Linked DNA regions of Homo sapiens: region 1 is linked to region 2. Evidence: promoter capture Hi-C in 16 types of primary human blood cells and fetal thymus (Javierre and others, 2016). All regions are on one chromosome and are shown on one strand. Each heading gives the region's core, a stretch centred on a gene start or on the middle of the fragment in contact. The rest is flanking DNA. Distances are from core to core; before and after follow the strand shown. Region 1 overlaps PDE11A (phosphodiesterase 11A). Region 2 holds the start of HNRNPA3 (heterogeneous nuclear ribonucleoprotein A3).

The links. Contacts are between HindIII fragments. The CHiCAGO score rates a contact against its expected background, and 5 or more counts as called.
Region 1: a contact is called between a fragment that was not itself captured here and the fragment with the promoter of HNRNPA3 in region 2, in 1 of 17 cell types (megakaryocytes). The highest score is 6.0, in megakaryocytes.

The regions. Positions count from the first base shown.
Region 1 is chr2:177,753,973-177,756,672 of GRCh38, forward strand. The region is part of intron 10 of PDE11A (phosphodiesterase 11A); the gene reads right to left. Among named protein-coding and RNA genes, the nearest start is that of PDE11A-AS1, 82 kb to the left of the region's middle. The HindIII fragment of the contact is 1,653 bases long and covers 533-2,185 here.
Region 2 is chr2:177,211,431-177,214,130 of GRCh38, forward strand. It overlaps HNRNPA3 (heterogeneous nuclear ribonucleoprotein A3), which reads left to right and starts at 1,364. Exons shown (of 11, transcript NM_194247.4): 1 at 1,364-1,441. The coding sequence starts at 1,370. It overlaps MIR4444-1 (microRNA 4444-1), which reads left to right and starts at 1,296; the gene lies at 1,296-1,369. LOC105373759 (a long non-coding RNA gene) reads right to left here and starts at 981. Exons shown (of 1, transcript NR_157853.1): 1 at 1-981. RefSeq lists a silencer at 1,002-1,791 and an enhancer at 1,331-2,002. The HindIII fragment of the contact is 9,993 bases long and covers 1-2,700 here.

The DNA.
Region 1 (2,700 bases), core at 109-2,608, 540 kb after region 2:
TGATCTTCACAGCTGAGGCCCATCTGGATCATCCTCCTTTCCAGCTGACAGTGAGAGAGCCAATGAAATGCCTTTTCCTGTTGCTGGGTGACTGCGAATATTTTGAAAACAAGTTCCTTAAAGGCAGCAGCTTCAAAGCCTGCCATTGGCTGGCTAGGCATACTGTGCAATGCTGACGCATGAAGGCTGGCAGAGGAGTGACAGTTGGGAAGAGCTACGCAAATATATTACTGGCCTGATGGTCCACTGGAGGGAAAGACTATTTCAAGGCTGAGTGACAACTATAACATACCCTGTCAGAAGAAAAATAAATCTCCCTGAGTCTACATTCAGGCATCTGAAGAACATTGCAGAAAATACTGCAGACAAAAAAAATGCAAAAACAAAAAACAAAAAACAAAAAAACTCAAGGTTGTCCTACCCTCAGATCTCCTGCTTTTTATGGTCTGATGAGCAGTTCTTCCTGTTCAAGAAATATATGGGTATTTCCACATACTTTGGTAGAATTTGTGTTCATACATTTTAAAGCCCAAGCTTGTTTATTTGGAAAATAATTTTCAACAAAGTCATGGAAGATTTTCTTTGCTTCCTTGTCTCCAGCGTCCCTTCCTTCACCTTCCTCCCCTGACCTTCAAGTCCAAAAATCCAGCAGGCACAGTATGCGGTCAGTGTCAGGGGCAGCATTGGCTGCATTTTATCTCACTCTGTCCACTTAAAATATTTGCATCCTGGTGGGAGGATAAGCACAGTCCTGTCTAAACAGCCTTGGGGTTCAGCTTTGCAGCTGGAGAGAGCTGTTTGGATACAAGTAACTGCTTTTGCTAACACCGGGTTAACTGTTCACACACAAATCTGCCAACGAGCCTCTAGGAAGGAATGTCCTTCTACTAATTGAATTCTAATGAGGCCAGGAAGTAGATTAGGAATTGAGCTATTTTACTATGAGTTTCAAATATCAGATCTAGGGATGTTTGGCCTGTCTGATCTCCTTAATTCTCCAGCAGGTCCCAATAAATTCATGAAGAAATGACTAGAAGAAATCTGTGGGTTATTGGTTGATCCAGTTGCAGGGGGCTTTTCTATATATCAGAGACTACAGTGTTCAAACACAAGAGAAAGAGGCTGATCTGAGATGACCTGATGGGCTAGTCATTAGTGAGGAGTTCCTGGACCAATTTAATTGGCATGTCCCTGGAAGTTATATTTATTTGCCTTATAATATTTGGGTAAGTTTGAGAGCCAAATCAGGGTGAGCATCAGTGGGGTCACCCCTGATTCTACTTAGTTGTGGAAATAGAAATGCTTTAAGGACATAGTAGAACATTCTTTTCAATAATGCTATATAGCCAACATCACTTGTGGAACCACTTCAGCAGACAGAGCGATCACTTGTGGGTGTCACCCAGTTTCTAGACATTACGAAGAGGCTCTTGTGAGCATCTTGCCTGTATCCCAGGAAATGCCTGCCTGCCATAAAAGAGGGCATGGGGTCATGCAAAAGTTACCTGCATGTACTGTGAAGGACAGCTATGATACCATCCACCAGGTACCTCTTTCCTTTCTAGAACTGGCCCTCCTTCTGCTGCGACCCCATGTTTCCACCTGGATTTGATTTTTCCAACTGACACACTTTCCTAAGCACACACTCCTCATCACAGTTGACTGGTCCAGGGATGGACAGGGGAACCAAGTGGGCCAAGCGGACCAATCAGAAAATGTCCCTGATATTTTCCAAACTGGAACTTGGGACTCCATAGTTCCCTTCTAGAAGGGGTTGCTGAAAGATGAGAAACCCAGGCTCTGCCAGAGGCCACTTTTACCCCTTTGTAGAGCAAGCCAGTCTGCAGTGAGTACCCAAGGGCTCCATGTGCAATGTGAGGCTTTTCATATTTGGCCCAAGGGGCCACCTGGGTGCTTAGTGGAGAGTCACAGCAGCCAGCCCCAGGAATCACCAAGTGGCTCTGAGGGTAGCAGATGGTTTTGCAGGAGCCCATTCTGTGGGGCAGGGTTTCCTTTTGGTGTGCACTACGCTCTCATTTGTAACACTTCCTGGGAAGACTTTGGGCTTTTACATACTATATAGAGGAAGGAGATTTTACATCTGGGACCTTGGGGCCATTTCAACCCTGCCTTCCCACTAATGAATTTACCACACAATAAGAGAAAGAGTTCCTGTTGGGAGAGAAGCTTGTTTGCACCCCAGGTCAGACAGGGCCACTGCTAACACTAGAATAGTGGGCCCCTGGTCTTTCAGGGGTTATCAAAATAACCAGCTTTTGCCCTCACACACAACTCCTCAGAGAACCGGAGTAAAGCTGTTTTCAAGAAGACCACTGATGGTTTAAAAGATATTTCAGGCAGAAGCATAAATTTCTTCATGGTTTTAAAGGGAAAGAAATTCCCTTTAAATTCATATTGGAGAAATGTCATCACAGAAAGCCTCTCACTCTCTTCTCGTTCATTTCTGAATTCTAAATCTTTTCTGTTGGTGGTGAGGGGAAGAGTAAAAAGTGGTTTTCCTCAAAAGCCAGCTTCAGTGGTTTACGGAGTTGTTTGACAAACTTAAGCCCAAGTGTTGAGGACGGCCACCTGTTCCCACAGAAATCACAAAGCTTGGTTTTCACAGAACTCGTCTCCATCTCCAGGAAGGCCAGAGGTGAATTATAGTATGTGTTAGGAAAATGAACCTAGTAGCAAGAG
Region 2 (2,700 bases), core at 114-2,613:
GGACTGCTAACTGTTTTCTGCCCCACAAAAATACCCTTTGTAAATGTTTCCAAACTATAACACAGGTCCTCCTGGAGCAACGGCTAGATAAATTAACAAACTTTTAGACTTTACGCTCCCCTTTTCCAAACTCCAAGTCGACCACTCCCCATTTGTTAACAGAAACTTACTATAACTGATTAGATTTCTAACCTTTCCTAGGGAGAGCCAGTTCAATTCTAAAAGGGTTGGTCACATGGGTTGCTAAATTAAAATATAAAGCATTTCCTAACAGGGAAGGGAGGCTGGTCAATTGTGGTTATTTTTATCAGTAACTTTAAATATGGATCCATAGATTATCAATTTATGGCTGTCGTGGGTGTTAGAAGATGACCTAATCCCATCCCCATTTTCATTTAAAAAACTGAAACTAAAGCTCTGTAAAATCAAATGATTTAAAATCATCTGACTAGGCCGAGAAAGGATTAGCTCTCTAGAGCATTACGGTAACAATCATTCGCAAACAGGTAGCATTATCTGGCGACCCTGCTTTTCTGGAAATCTTGTCAATTATTCAGTTCCTTAAATTCCGTCAGCTACAACAGATGCATCAGCTCTTTCCACACTAACTTGAAAGAAGCACATTAGAAAATAGTCCTGACTTGTTTCTTGAGATCAGTAACTAATGAACTGACCTCCACCAGTCCTGCCTCAGGTCGTTAATGGTAAAAATTCTGTATGTCAGCCGCGTTTTGAGGCCTGTCCAAGGTGCTTGTGAGTCCCACATGTTGGAGTCGCAGGGCTTTTCAGTACATGCCCTCAGGCAGGCGGCGCAGTCACAGACACTGGTCCCCGGCATTTGGAAACAGGAAAGATGGTCCGAGGGGCCGAGGAGTTTTTCTTGCAACCTTTAAATTACAAGCAAGAAAAACGTGGGTTTTATTTCGGGCACAGGAATAGAATGAATTCTGAAATGGAGAACTAGAGGCCTGCGTGGGGAATGAGGGACAAGCGCGAGAAGAAAGGGAAAGGCCTTTCTCTCTGGTGACGCGCGATCACAAGGCGTTCCCTCTACGTGGACGCTCACCATTGGCGGAGACCGCACTGACGTCCCGGAACTCGCCCTGACGCGAACGGCGGCAAAGGCCCTCTTCCCCTGAAAGCTGGCGAGGCGCGCGCGCTCCCGCGGCACGCCGCGCCTCCGCCCTCCGCCCGCCAACCCGCTGGTCCAGTCCCTCTTCGCGCCCGCTTGGCTCCGCCCCCTTCCCAATTCGCTCCTCCCCCAACAGACTGGCGGCGCGCGGAAAACGCGTCACGTGACGACTGGCCCCGCCTCTTCCTCTCGGTCCCATATTGAACTCGAGTTGGAAGAGGCGAGTCCGGTCTCAAAATGGAGGTAAAACCGCCGCCCGGTCGCCCCCAGCCCGACTCCGGCCGTCGCCGTCGCCGCCGGGGGGAGGAGGTATTAGGGGGAGAGCGGGGGGTTGGTGGGGAATGGCCGGCGTTGGGGGCCTGGTTCGGTGGGAGCGGGGAGGCCGGGTGGACCGGGTCGGCCGTCCCGCGCTCTTGCGTTGAGACAGGCTGTGGGAGGGGGAGGGGAGCGAGAGTTGGAGACCTCCTTGGGGCCCCTCGCCCGCCTCGCCTTCACCTTCGGCTGCACAGGCGGCCCCTTGGAGGCGCGGCTTGGTCGGGGAGGCCTCGGGAGGGAAGCCGGCCTGCCGGCTGCGCGGCCTCCGAAGCGAGGCCGAGGGCGGCATGGCGGGCCCCGGCGGGAGCGGTTGGGAGGAGGTGGTGGGGGAGGGGAGGGGACGAGCAGGCACATCCGGGCGAGCGAGCAAGCGGGCGGCGGCCACATTGACATTGATCCGCCGCCGCGTTACGAAATGGCGCATTGGCCCGCAATGGCCGCCGCCTCGCTCTGCCGCCGGGAAAGCGAGCCTGGGATTGGAGGGAAGAGGGCGGAGGCGGCCCGGCAGAAAAAGCCGCAAATGGCCTCGAAGCATGGGGAGGTAGTGCTTTCGCTGAAGTTCTGCCGACGCTTTTCTAGGCCTTTTACGGGTCCTCTCCGCGAGAAGTCGATAATTGGCCTTTTCTTTTTTTCGCAGCATCCTGTTGGAAATACGAGATTGTTAAAAACTTTGCTGCTTTAAAATACTTCCTGATATATTTTTGCTAAAGTACTTACATTACACTTCTTAAACCGCCATGTGGGCGAAGGACTTAATTTTTGAGAATTTGAGTGTAGATGTGAAAAACAACCCAGCCAGCTCCTTCCCGGCTCCGGCCGCTGAGGAGGGTGGGTGGAGAAGAATTTGAGTATAGTATGTTAAGGAAGAATTTAGAAATGTTTTTTATCTTCATGTTTTCCCATTCTTTGAGTCGGCTCTGGTTGTAGTTTCCTGGAATTTTATTTAGAGGACTGCAACCAGAGTTGAAATTTTCACGTTTTTGCAGTACATTTAATGTGGATCCTAAATATTTTTGTCGATTTCGTTATTGTCAATCGAATACATTTATCCAAGACTTGAAAAGATGAGATTACATGAATTAATGCTTTAGGCTATTAACGTTTTTTTCTAGCATGTGACAATCTCTTCACATTAAACGGTTTAACATCTCTACCTCTAGGAGACACAGGAAGACATTAGAATGTAAATGTGAGCCCCTTATTTAAGAACTTCGGGTGAAGGAAACCTTAATGCATGCATTAAATGACAGTTC